Regions from separate parts of the Homo sapiens genome. Here regions 1 and 2 are each linked to region 3. The links are contacts of gene promoters, found by promoter capture Hi-C in human tissues and cell types (Jung and others, 2019). All regions are on one chromosome and are shown on one strand. The core of a region is centred on a gene start or on the middle of the fragment in contact, and the rest is flanking DNA. Distances in the headings are between cores, read along the strand shown. Region 1 has its middle 47 kb from the start of LRFN2. Region 2 holds the start of LOC105379699 (a long non-coding RNA gene). Region 3 holds the start of LRFN2 (leucine rich repeat and fibronectin type III domain containing 2).

The links. Contacts are between HindIII fragments. The study calls those that stand out against the background at their distance.
Region 1: a contact is called between a fragment that was not itself captured here and the fragment with the promoter of LRFN2 in region 3, in 1 of the 25 tissues and cell types used here (IMR-90 fibroblasts).
Region 2: a contact is called between a fragment that was not itself captured here and the fragment with the promoter of LRFN2 in region 3, in 1 of the 25 tissues and cell types used here (H1 embryonic stem cells).

What each region holds. Positions count from the first base shown.
Region 1 is chr6:40,632,916-40,636,468 of GRCh38, reverse strand. No RefSeq gene overlaps it. Among named protein-coding and RNA genes, the nearest start is that of LRFN2, 47 kb to the right of the region's middle. The HindIII fragment of the contact is 6,259 bases long and covers 1-3,553 here.
Region 2 is chr6:40,522,390-40,526,096 of GRCh38, reverse strand. The region is part of intron 1 of LRFN2 (leucine rich repeat and fibronectin type III domain containing 2); the gene reads left to right. It overlaps LOC105379699 (a long non-coding RNA gene), which reads left to right and starts at 2,132. Exons shown (of 3, transcript NR_182434.1): 1 at 2,132-2,265. LOC105375051 (a long non-coding RNA gene) reads right to left here and starts at 2,103. Exons shown (of 3, transcript XR_007059918.1): 1 at 1,750-2,103; 2 at 238-381. The HindIII fragment of the contact is 3,524 bases long and covers 1-3,157 here.
Region 3 is chr6:40,585,118-40,588,729 of GRCh38, reverse strand. It overlaps LRFN2 (leucine rich repeat and fibronectin type III domain containing 2), which reads left to right and starts at 1,366. Exons shown (of 3, transcript NM_020737.3): 1 at 1,366-1,789. RefSeq lists silencers at 934-1,003, 1,094-1,193. The HindIII fragment of the contact is 16,487 bases long and covers 1-3,612 here.

The DNA of each region.
Region 1 (3,553 bases), core at 666-3,165, 47 kb before region 3:
GTGATGAGGCTGCGGTAGGCCTCACATCCAAGCTCTTGCCACTTCCAAGCTGGAGGATACCTGCTGTCTCCCTCCCCAGTTCTAGAAGGCAGAATTTCCACACTCAGATAATGCATATGACTAAGGAGGTACTGAGAGGAGGCAAGTTTGGAGGGTGCACTTCTTAGGAGTCTTTTCATACAATTCAGCCAACAATGAGTATCTTTCAACCCACTTGTGGACATTCAGGTGAGAAAACCCACGGGCAGGGGCAAGGGCAAGGGAAACATTCTCTCTTTCTCCCTGTCCTTCCTCCCTCCCTGTAGGGATGTGCACCACCCTTCCCCCCTCACCTGCCTTCTCTTAAGTCTATTTTTGGAGCCTCAACTCTCTGTGTGTGTGTGTGTGTGTGTGTGTGTGTATAGTATGTGCATGTGTGTAAAAGTAAAGGGCCCCATGGAAGGTAGATAGGCTTTCTCTCCAAAATATGCCTGTGTGTGCAGACCTCGCTATTTTCACAAGGGCTCTAAAGGGGATAACAAAATTAAGTTAAATCAAGCACAATGCAGTCAAATTATAGCATTTAAGCACCATATCAGCTTACAAAGTGCCTTCATGTGTAGTCACCAAAACATCCTGTGAAGAAGTATTCATTTTAGCCCTAAATTACAAATAAGGAAACTGAGGTTCAAAAAGAGAAGAACTTGCCTGAGGGCCCACCAGTGGTAAGTGACAGAGGTGGACCTAGAGGCCATACCTTTTGACTGCAAAGCAAAAGCTCTTTCCACCTCACAGAAGAGTTGGCAAGAGAAGATAAATAGGCGTGTCCAAGTTTCTAGGACCAGAAGGCCACTGCGGGTGAGCCTGGAATATAGTTCTGGGTTTCTGAGAGCCAGAGTCAACAGCTAGAAAGGAGAGAGAGGGAGGAGATGATTTCAGAGAGTGGAGGGGGAGGGATAGTCATGGGGAGATGGGCATGGTGAGTGCAGGGACTTCAGGGGCAAAGTTGTGCAGGCACAAGGGAGCTAGGGGCAAGTGATCGTGGAGAGATAAGGGACCAGAAAAGTGCCTTCATCTGTTTCCTCCATGGGTCTCTCCCTCTGTCCCTGCCTCCATTTCTTGGCTTTTGTCCCTGCCAGAGCTGATCCTTAGCAACCCCAACACCCTATGCATATACTTCATAAGACTTCCTGGGGAGCTGGGAGATGCGTAAGAGGCATGCGAAACCCTGGTCTAAAGTTCTGGCTCATCCTTTCTCCCATCACTCACTTCTGACCCTTTGCTCCAGGGAACACTAGCCCCAGTACAGTGAAACCACAGAGACATACTTTGCAGGGGTCACAGAATTATATGGGTCATCTGGTCAACCCTCAGGGCATAGTAGAGAAAACTGAGGCCCAGAGAGGGTAGGTGGCTTGCCCAAGGACACACATTGGTTAAGAATCGGGGCAGGGAGCTGGCATAAACCAGATTCTTCCCCCCACTGCAAAGGCTAAGAGGGAAGAGGGCACTGGAACCTCCAAGCCATAGCCAGCAGCAGGGCCACAGCCTGAGACACTGCCTGCCTCTTCCAGAGTTGATCCCAGACACTCTATCTTCCTCCCTGGTTTACTGTTTAGTGTTTTTAAAGCACATCTCAGTTCAGTGCTTTTGCTACAGTAAATATCTAATAATTGTTTCAGACTCTATTACTCACCTCACAAAATAGTGCCTGGAAATGGTGCTTATTTAGGTTTGTGCTGAAAGAGAAAAAACTCAGAAAAGGCCTGTCACATCTCCAGTGCTGTTGACTGTTTGTGGTCCAGAGATGGGGGTGGGGCGTGGCCCACTGCCAAGTACCTGGTGCTGGATACTCCTTCTAGCTGTGGGGATGCTGGTGCATTTATTAACCCTGCTAAGCCAGTCTCTGCCTCCACAAAAGCTGCTGAGACTGTGTGTGTGTGTGTGCGTGCGTGCATGTGTGTGTGTGTGTGAGAGAGAGAGAGAAGAGATTTACAGGCTGAAGTATATCTCTGAGTATTAATATAAAAATGTGTATGCCACATATCACCTTGTGTGTGCGTGTGGGCATACACACACATGTTCAAACATGAAAGTGAGTCCATACTTTTAATGTTCACAACCATCCCCAAAATTGTCCTCACAAAAGAGACCACAGCTGGAAGGCAGGGGTCATAATAATCACATCAACTTTACTATTTACATATGGTTCTCGCATCTGTGATTTCCACTGATCCTCACAACCTAGATATTTCCATGTTCATTATTCAGATGAGGACACTGAGGCCCAGGGAGCTCAGAGTATGGACTGAAGTTCAAACACTGGTAAGTGTTGGGGCTCAAGTTTTGACTCCATGAAAGTTCAGAGGCTAAGACACCAGATTCAGAAACACTAGTTTTGGTGTCAGATTTGAATCCTGACTTGAGCATTTACTGGCTGTAAGACTTTGGGCAGAGGATTGTCTTACTTAATCCATGGTTTTCTCATCTGCAAAATGGGTATTGCAGTGTCTATCTGCTTATCTCATAGGAAAGTTGTAAGATAAACAGTTGTTGTGAAAATGATGCAAGGTCACAGGTGTAAATGTTCTGCATAACACCTATCCTGTTACAGGCACCTGTACATATTTGCTGTTACTGTGATCAGCTAATCCAATTCCATGCCTCTGTCTACAGTCCCAGCTAAATGAGTGCCTATCTCCTTGCCCTGGGTCAACCATCGTGTCACTAGATCAGCAGTTTGAAAGCATTTTTGTCTCAGCGTCCCTTTACACTGTTAAATATTATCAAGGAGTCTAAAGAGCTTTCATTTATATGAGTTACACATACTTTCATCTTCAGAGAAATTTTAAAATATTTATATAAAATATTATTATTTTAAAATCATAAACCCTTTGCATAGTAATACAAATGATATTTTTATGAAAAAATAACTATTTTACAAAAAAAGTTTGTAAAAACAGTGGTCTTGTTTTCCATTGTTGGAACTCTCTTTCATGTCTGGTTTATCAGAAGACAGCTGGATTTGCATGCCTGTTTTTGCATTCAATCTGTTGTGATATCACATGTCATGCAGCCTCTGGAATATGCTACTGAATGCTTGTGAAAGAATCAGAGTGAAAAAGGCAAATGACACCTCGGTATTATTATAAAAATAATTTTGACTTCACTGGCCCCAGAGGCCCCTGGACCATGCTTTGAGAACCACTGCATGAGATGAAGACTAAACTCTCTTCCTGTCCAGGCAGGCTGTGCTTTTATGCATTTCTGTCACTATATCTGGAAAATTAAGATTGACTAAGACAAAAGCAAATAATATCCGTGTTAGGTTTCTCCATTGTAGGGCATTGACTTGTGAACCTGATATTGACAAACTAAGGTTGGCTACTTTTTACCAACTTCTTCACTTGTGTCCACCATTGGCCCTAGGCTGTTGACTGATTGATTTATATCATATGTGTGTCATTGAAGAGGCATTTGAATTTACTATCTGACATAAGAAGATTGAGTGATTGCAGGGCTGATTGCTGCAAAGCTTTAACAATCATCATTAATGACCCAGGTTCTTCTTTAT
Region 2 (3,707 bases), core at 146-2,645, 63 kb after region 3:
CATAAGCAGTGCTCAGAACTGTGCCCTGCACATAGCCGAGAAAACACTACTGCTATTAAACCAGGAAAATCTTGAGAACAGGAACCTTTTCTCTCTCCCTCTTCCCAGCACCGATCTCGTGCCTTCGTGTTCAGTGTGTATTTGCTAAAGATGGTGACGTGTAGCTGGCCCTCTGAGGGGGGTTCATTTCAGCACAGAAATGGAAAGGGGAGAACTTGGGGGAAGACTGTGTCTTACGTGGTCTTGCGGGCAAAGTTCCAGGGCCAGAAAAAAGCAAGATTGTCCAGGTTGTAAGAGCCAGGGCTGGTGGTTGGAGGCCTGGCAGTGTGGGAGGGCTGGAGCAGCGAGGCTTCCTGGAGGAGGTGAGATGGGTCAACTGACCTAAGGGGAAAGTAAGAAGAAAGTATGGCAAGAGGAAGGAGGCACCACAGGAACTGAGGGGCAAAGGGTGGGCTCGGAGCATGTGTAAATCTCAGTTCTCTTTGCTCATAAAGTTCTGCAGATGCATATTTCTGTCAGTTTTATATTAACATTTACATAACAAGTAGATTGAGAGATTGCATTATTTACATATATATGGGAGGCCGGCTGGAACTGGGGATCCTCAAGTCTGTACATGACGTTTCATTGATTAATAAATTAGACACTTACAGATCAGGCACAAATCAAATCCATCCATTTCAGGCACCCATCAGGTGCAAATGAATGTAAATTGGCAGCTTCATTTGCATAGGGAAAGCAAACCATTTAGTTGTCATTTGTCATATGCACCCTTGAGAGGCTGTAATTTGCCTAGTAGAGCCAGCCTGCAGCAGGGCCGCCCTTGCTTTCTGGGGTGATTTCTGAGACTGCTCCAGCCAGGGGCGAGCAAGGGAGTGGCCTATGGAATGCTCCTGTGTCCTGCTCCCCTCCTGGAATCACCAGCATGGCCCCAGAGGGGGACAGCAGAGCCAGGGCCAGGTGGGGACACTGCCTTGTCACAGAATCAGAAATGAGGTGGCCAGGACTGGAAAATCTTCAAATCCATCTATGCCCACTTTGTATTTTATAGATGATGAGCTGAAGTTCAGAGAGGGGAAGTGACTCTCCTAAAGTCACACAGCAATGTAGCTTCAGTGCCAAGACTAGAACCGAGTTCTCCTTACTCCAAGCTCATTACCTTTGCCACGATGCCCTAGTGGTTCTTTCTAACAGGAAATAAAGGAGCAGGGTATGGAGCTTCTAGAATCACTGACCCCTGACTCAGTTTCCTGAGGCAAGGGTTGGAGGTCAGGGGGTGGAGGTTCAGGATAAGAATGAGTTGTTACTATTAGGATCCAGTTTTCTATAAGCTTCTGTCATGGCCTGATTTCAGGGCACCTGGAGGGCCCCTCTCTCCTGGGCATATTGACCACCATCCCTTTGGCCCCCCAAGTTCCTTTAAAGACAAAAAGAAAGGTCTTTTGTTATACATGAAAAGACACAGTTTAAAGGCTGGTTGGGTTGCCAACAGAGTGAGTGAGAAGGAGCGCCTCGGCCCCCTGCCTGCGTGAGCCAGGCCTCCAAGAAAGATGGAAAAGGTACAAAAATGGGACCCCAGAGGCCAAGCTTTATTTACTTCACAGCCCAAGAGAGACAAGAGATGAGGGCTGCAGGGGTGTGTGTGTGAGTGAGAGAGTGTGTGTGTGTCAGTATGTGTCAGTGTGTGTTAGAGGTGTGGCGGGTCGGGGGTGGGGAAGCAGTAAGTCAGGGTAGGGGGAGGTGGCTGACCTTCAACATCAGTTATCAGGGCAGGCAGGCATCCAGGTGATCTGTCCTGGTTATGGGACACCTGTTAGAGGCAGGGGGATAACTGAATTGACTCTGATGGGATTTTTCTACATTTTAAAATCTGCATGTGTTTTGTTTTGGTAGGTTAGGGCATCAAATTGGGATGTAGTTTTATTTTATTTTTAAAATCTCTCCCTCTGTGTGCTAAGAAAACAGGCTAATGGGGACATTATCCCCCAGTTTTCCTGTACCCCTGTTGTTCACGATGATGAGGAAAACCACATTTAATTTTCCTGCAACTGCTGGGAAGTGCCATGCAGCTTGGGCTGGCCTCCCCAGCCCCTCCCCCTGCCCTTCCCAGCCCCTCCCCCTGCCCTTCTATGCAGACACAGTTGGATGGCAATTGGAAGAGTACTGGCCCTGGGAAGACCCAGCTTTGAGCCTCAGGTTGTGTCTAATCATCTCTCTGTCCTTGGGCCAGTCAACTCACCTGTTCGTGCTGCCACAGAGACAGAGGTACAGGAGCTCAAGCACAGACCTGGGGTTGGCATTCCTGCTCTGCTGCAGGCTGGTTTGGCATGGCCACGGGACTGCCTTGTGGCCTTGGGTGTCTTAAACTTTCATAGCAAGCTTCATGTGTTCATGAGTAAACAGGGCCAATGATAGAACTTATTTCTGGTGCAATCATACATGCCCATGCATGCCAGTTCCTGCCCAGGGGCTGGCACAGAGTAGGTGCTCAGTGGATCAAAGGTATTATTCGTAGCCTCTGTGGTAAAGTCTTGTTATGCCTTCTTCATAGGGCTATCGGTAAAAAAAAAAAAAAAAAAAAAAAAAAAAAATCACCTAAAGATGCTTTAGGGTCCTAAAGCACTAAAAACCAACCAAACAAAAGAGAGTTGGCTTTATGATTAAATTATCCTTCACCACTTTGATCAATGGGGCTGAGGCCCATGGTTAGGGCATGGTGGGGCGTGGGTGGGGTGTGCCCCATTTTGCGTGAAACCCACTCTTGCTGAGTTAGGTGGGCGATGCATCAAGGGGCCTGTCTGCAAGAGCAAAACTGGAGGCCAGAGTCCTCCAGAAGGAGGACAAGGAGGGGTTCAAATTCACCATGCATTGAGCATTTATTGAGCACCTGCTGTGTGGCAAGGACCTTCACAGGTGTTATCTCATTTGGTCCAGTGACACATAGTCTGTTGTTCCTCTGGGCTTCAAATGGCCCCTTGAGCCCCTGAAGCAACAGGACCATGGTAACAAAAGGAAAGCTCACACCTACTGAGACACCTTGCGTCACAGTGCATGTTTGCACACTCAGTCTCCCTAACGCCATTCTGATGGCAGATTTGCTAACTTGGCCTAGTGCCTGTGTGTCTGTCCTTCCCTTATTACACACTCATCTTCCAGACAGGTGCATTCACATCCACTGCAGGCCCTGCACCTTACACTCAGCCCCAGTTTCTGCCCATCATACAGAGGACAGAGTCACAAACATGACACAGGCTCAGGGAAGGCATGAGTGGCTGTCATCCCTGATTCCCCCTTTTTTCTTTGAAACCCCTGTGGGGTCCCACATAGATGCAGCTGCCTGGTTCTAAGCTAGTGCTTTTCAAACTGTTGTGCTCCCAGGATTCCTCCATAGGAAGGGGCTCTGGAGTAGGGGGCAGGCCAGGGCCCTGGAATTCTGGTGCAGGTGGGAAACAGCAAAATTTATACGGTCCCCTCGCTAGCCCCTGCTTGCTGGTTCCATCCCAGCTACCTTTGGGAAAGCTGGTCACCTGTTGTTAGGGGCAGGAGATGAGGGAGGTGCAGAGAGCAGTTGTCCTCTTAGAGCTGTGTGCAGACAGGAACCTCTCTGCCTCACCTACCCACTTCCCCCAGGAATCCACACCCTCATACCACCCTCCAGCTTCCCTTGAGATTGGGGCAAGCCTGTGCCTTGGGTAGTGGGCTGGGGC
Region 3 (3,612 bases), core at 117-2,616:
TATCCAGCCGAGCCAATCCTGGGCTGCAGAGACACATCCACATGCAACATGTGCCTCCCTGTGGGTAACCGGGACAGGTGCACGGGATGTGTTAGCCACCAGGAGAGAAGAGAAGGACTGCAACATTGACATTCTTCCTGCCCCTGGATTTACCAGCTGGAGTACCAACAGGAATCTCAAAATTTCATTTCCTTTAGAAGGAAGGAAATGCCTCTTGGGGAGTCCAGTAAGGCAGAGGACGGTCCTACCTTTCTGGTAACTAGTTGTTTATAGTGAACCGAGAGGATAACCAAAGACGAGACCTTGGCCAGACCTGGGTGTTCTGACTGTGAGCTCACAGTCTGCTTTGAGTAGGGTCTCCGCTACCTACCACATGCCTTGGACAAGTCACTTTACTCTTTTGGGCCTCAGTTTCCTTATACATCAAATGAGGGTTGCTGAGAAGATCAAACAAGTGAAGAGTTGTAAAGATGCTGTGCAAACACTTGGCGCCACTGCACCCTTCACTGATTCTTGTAATAATCATGAAAAGTCAAAGTGCGTGTGTGTGCGTGCACGGGGCGCTCGTTATTCATAGGTCCCTTACCAGGATTCGAGAATCTGAACTGGGCCCCAGGACTGGGTGGGCGCGATCGCCCCAGCCCCCACTCCCAGCCTAGGGCCGGCGCGGTCGGGTTTTCCTCCAGCAGGCGGCGGGCTGACGGCTGCAGGGCGCGCTAGGCACGTGAGGTGGCAGCGCCGTCGCCAGCTGCAGAGGTGCAGCCCTGGCCGCCCGGCTCGCCTTCCGCAGGGGCTGCCCGTGCCGCTGGACCGCGGAGACCGCCCTCCCGGTTCCGGGGCTCGCGGCCTGCCCACCTCCCTCCGCGACTGCGGCCCCAGCCCACTCCCGCCCCACCGTGCGTCCCCGCGCCACCCCTGCCAGGACCGTGAATCCCTCTGGTTTCCGCGGCGGTGTTGGTCGTCTCGGAAGCGGGTGCGCTCGGCAGCGGGCAGGGCAGCGGGCGCAGAGGCTGCCTTCGGCTCCTGCAGCTCCGCGGTTCGCCACTGGGGGCTGCCGCGCCGGAGAGCTCGGCGGGGACGGTGCGCACGGCCGCCGGGTTCCTGGGCGCCTCTGGCCGCTGGGTTTTCTCCACTGCTGGCCCTGCGCTGTCTCCGCAGCCCGCCCGACTCCCTCCCAGATTGGAGCGTGTGATCCGTGTGTGTGTGTGTGTGCGTGTGTGTGTGTGTGTGTGTGTGGAGCGGAGAGAGAAACCGGGTACGCGCGTATGCGCGCGCGCGTGGGGGGCAGTGTGCATGCGGGGAGTACGGGGGAGTGTGTTTGTGTGTGCGTGTGGGTGTGAGTGCCTGGCTCCCTCTCGCTGAGACACACATACACTCACACATACACAACCCGGCAGGCTCGTCTGAACTTGAAGACACCCCACATTCCAAGATGCCCGAGGTTCCTGGGAATGCCTGGGGTTCTTCGATCCGGAAAATCCTACCGGCATCCTCCTAGGGAGGGATTATTATTATTATTTTTCTTTAATCTGGAAGAGAAGAGAACAAGTTGTGCTTTTCCCCCCTTCTTCTTGCTAAATGCCATGGATATAACTGAATAAGCGGCTCAGGGCTTTCCCCGCGTGGACGTCCGAGGCCACCATCTGCCTGCATTCGCCGGAGCCGCCGGAGGGTTTAGCTCGAGTCTGTCTCGGGCGGGGAAGGATGCGTGGCCGAGCCGGGGAGCCCGGGCGCCCCGCGGAGCCGGCCTCGGTGCCACCCAGCCGGGGGTAGATGCTGCCTCGCCCAGGTGAGTGGTCGCCGGCGCTGCGTCTTTGCGATCCCGGGTGTCCGCGGGAGCTCGGCGCGGGGCTGAACGCACCCGAGGGAACCGGGAACTTTGCATCCCTTTCTTTTTCTCTTGAAGACTCCCCGCATCCTAGGTGCTCATGCGGACACCCCCTTCTCTTTTCGCCCATCCTTATCGCGAGAGATTTCCTTTCCTTTCTTTAGTCTTTATTTCCTACAGTGGGGGTGAAACTCTGGCGGGGAGCGGGGAGAGCCGGGTCCATGTGAGACTGGAGAGCCGGATGGAGAGACGGGGAGCCACGGGTGGATGGAACCGTTGAAAACAGCAGGAGAACTTTGCCGCCAGACCACTCTGTTGCATCTCCGCACATGCAAGGCCTGGCTAGAGCCATTGCTGGGGGCTAGGTGGGGGCGCCGGGGACTCCCTGAGCTCTGTGGACTGGGTGGGGTGGGGTAAAGCCAAGTGCGGAAGGGTTGATGCAGAGCGGATGGGAGGAAGGAAGGCATGGTTGCAGTTTGTGGGGGCAGGTAGGGCAGGTTCAGGGACCCTATGCTGGCCTCAGGCAGAAAGCAGATCAGGGGGATTGTGTGTGTGTGCAGCTTGGGGCATCAGAATGGCATGATGAAGCAATATGGAAAGTGGCATTAGCCATGCCTGGGTTCCTAGGTCTCTGTCTCCCACCCAGCCCTGCCCTGGTTCTAAGGTTGGCCTGGGCAGGGAGGAGGGAGAGCAGTAGACCGTTCCGAGGTGGACAGTGCCTTACTTTGCACAGACCTTCTGAGGGAGGTGTCCTACTCGTCTTCCCATCAGCCCGGTACAAAGGACAGAGACAGAGAGTTCTAGGGAGATAGAGCCTCTGAAAACCAGAGCAGGAGGGAGAAGAGAGCCTGAGTGGAGACCGCAGAGGGACTGAGCCAGACTGTTGCCAAATGCACCCGGCGACAGCAGACAGCTGCAGACGGACAGACACCTGCAGGGACAGGGAACATGTCAGAGCCTGCACTCTTGAGTTGGAGTTACAGGCATGGCTATAGATGATGACCCCCTCCCCTGGCCACAATGGAGTGTGTGTGTGTGTGTGTGTGTGTACGCGTGTGTGTGTGTACGCATGTGTATGTTTCAGGGAGGTGGCAGCTGTGGCCTCCATGGCCTGATTGGCCTTCTAGTACTGGGGGAGGGGGAAGCTTCAGGAATTTGACCCCCTGCTGCTGGGGAGGAGCAAAGCTAGGGAGGAAACTGCCATTCCCTGGGCTGTGAAGTTCCCAGGGGCCAGGGCTAGAGGTTCTATGTGGGCTGTTATTCTTGTGTGGGGGCCGATTTGGAACTCAAGGTGGGGAGCAAGGGAACTAGGTCTTGGGGTTGTGCCCTGGTCTGGTCGCTGCCCTCTGGCAGGAGCTTTATATAGCCACACACAGCAGAGCCCTGAGGGTAGTGTCATTTCCTTGTGGGGTACATCAGAGGCTGAAGGGGGTCAGAGTCCTGTAGGGAGGATTCAGAAGCTCCAAAAGGCCTGCACTTGGAGCCGTCATCCTCCGCCGACCATGCCAGCTGCCTGGGCCCTTCTGCTGATGCTGGAATGTCATCTTTCCCTTCTGACTCTGGCTGGGAGTGCAGAGTTGCATCTCCCTCTGGCCTCCTCACATGCTTCTGCTCAGGCCCCCTGCCCAGCCCTCAATTTAGAGTTTCTGGTCTAATTCCTGACCAGGAATGTAATTATTTATCTTCCTGCCCTCATCCTGGGGATGCAAACAGCAAACTTGGCATTTCTGTTTCAGCCTCTGGAAGGTTGGCTCCCAGTTCCATCTCCTGTCTAGAAGAACTGG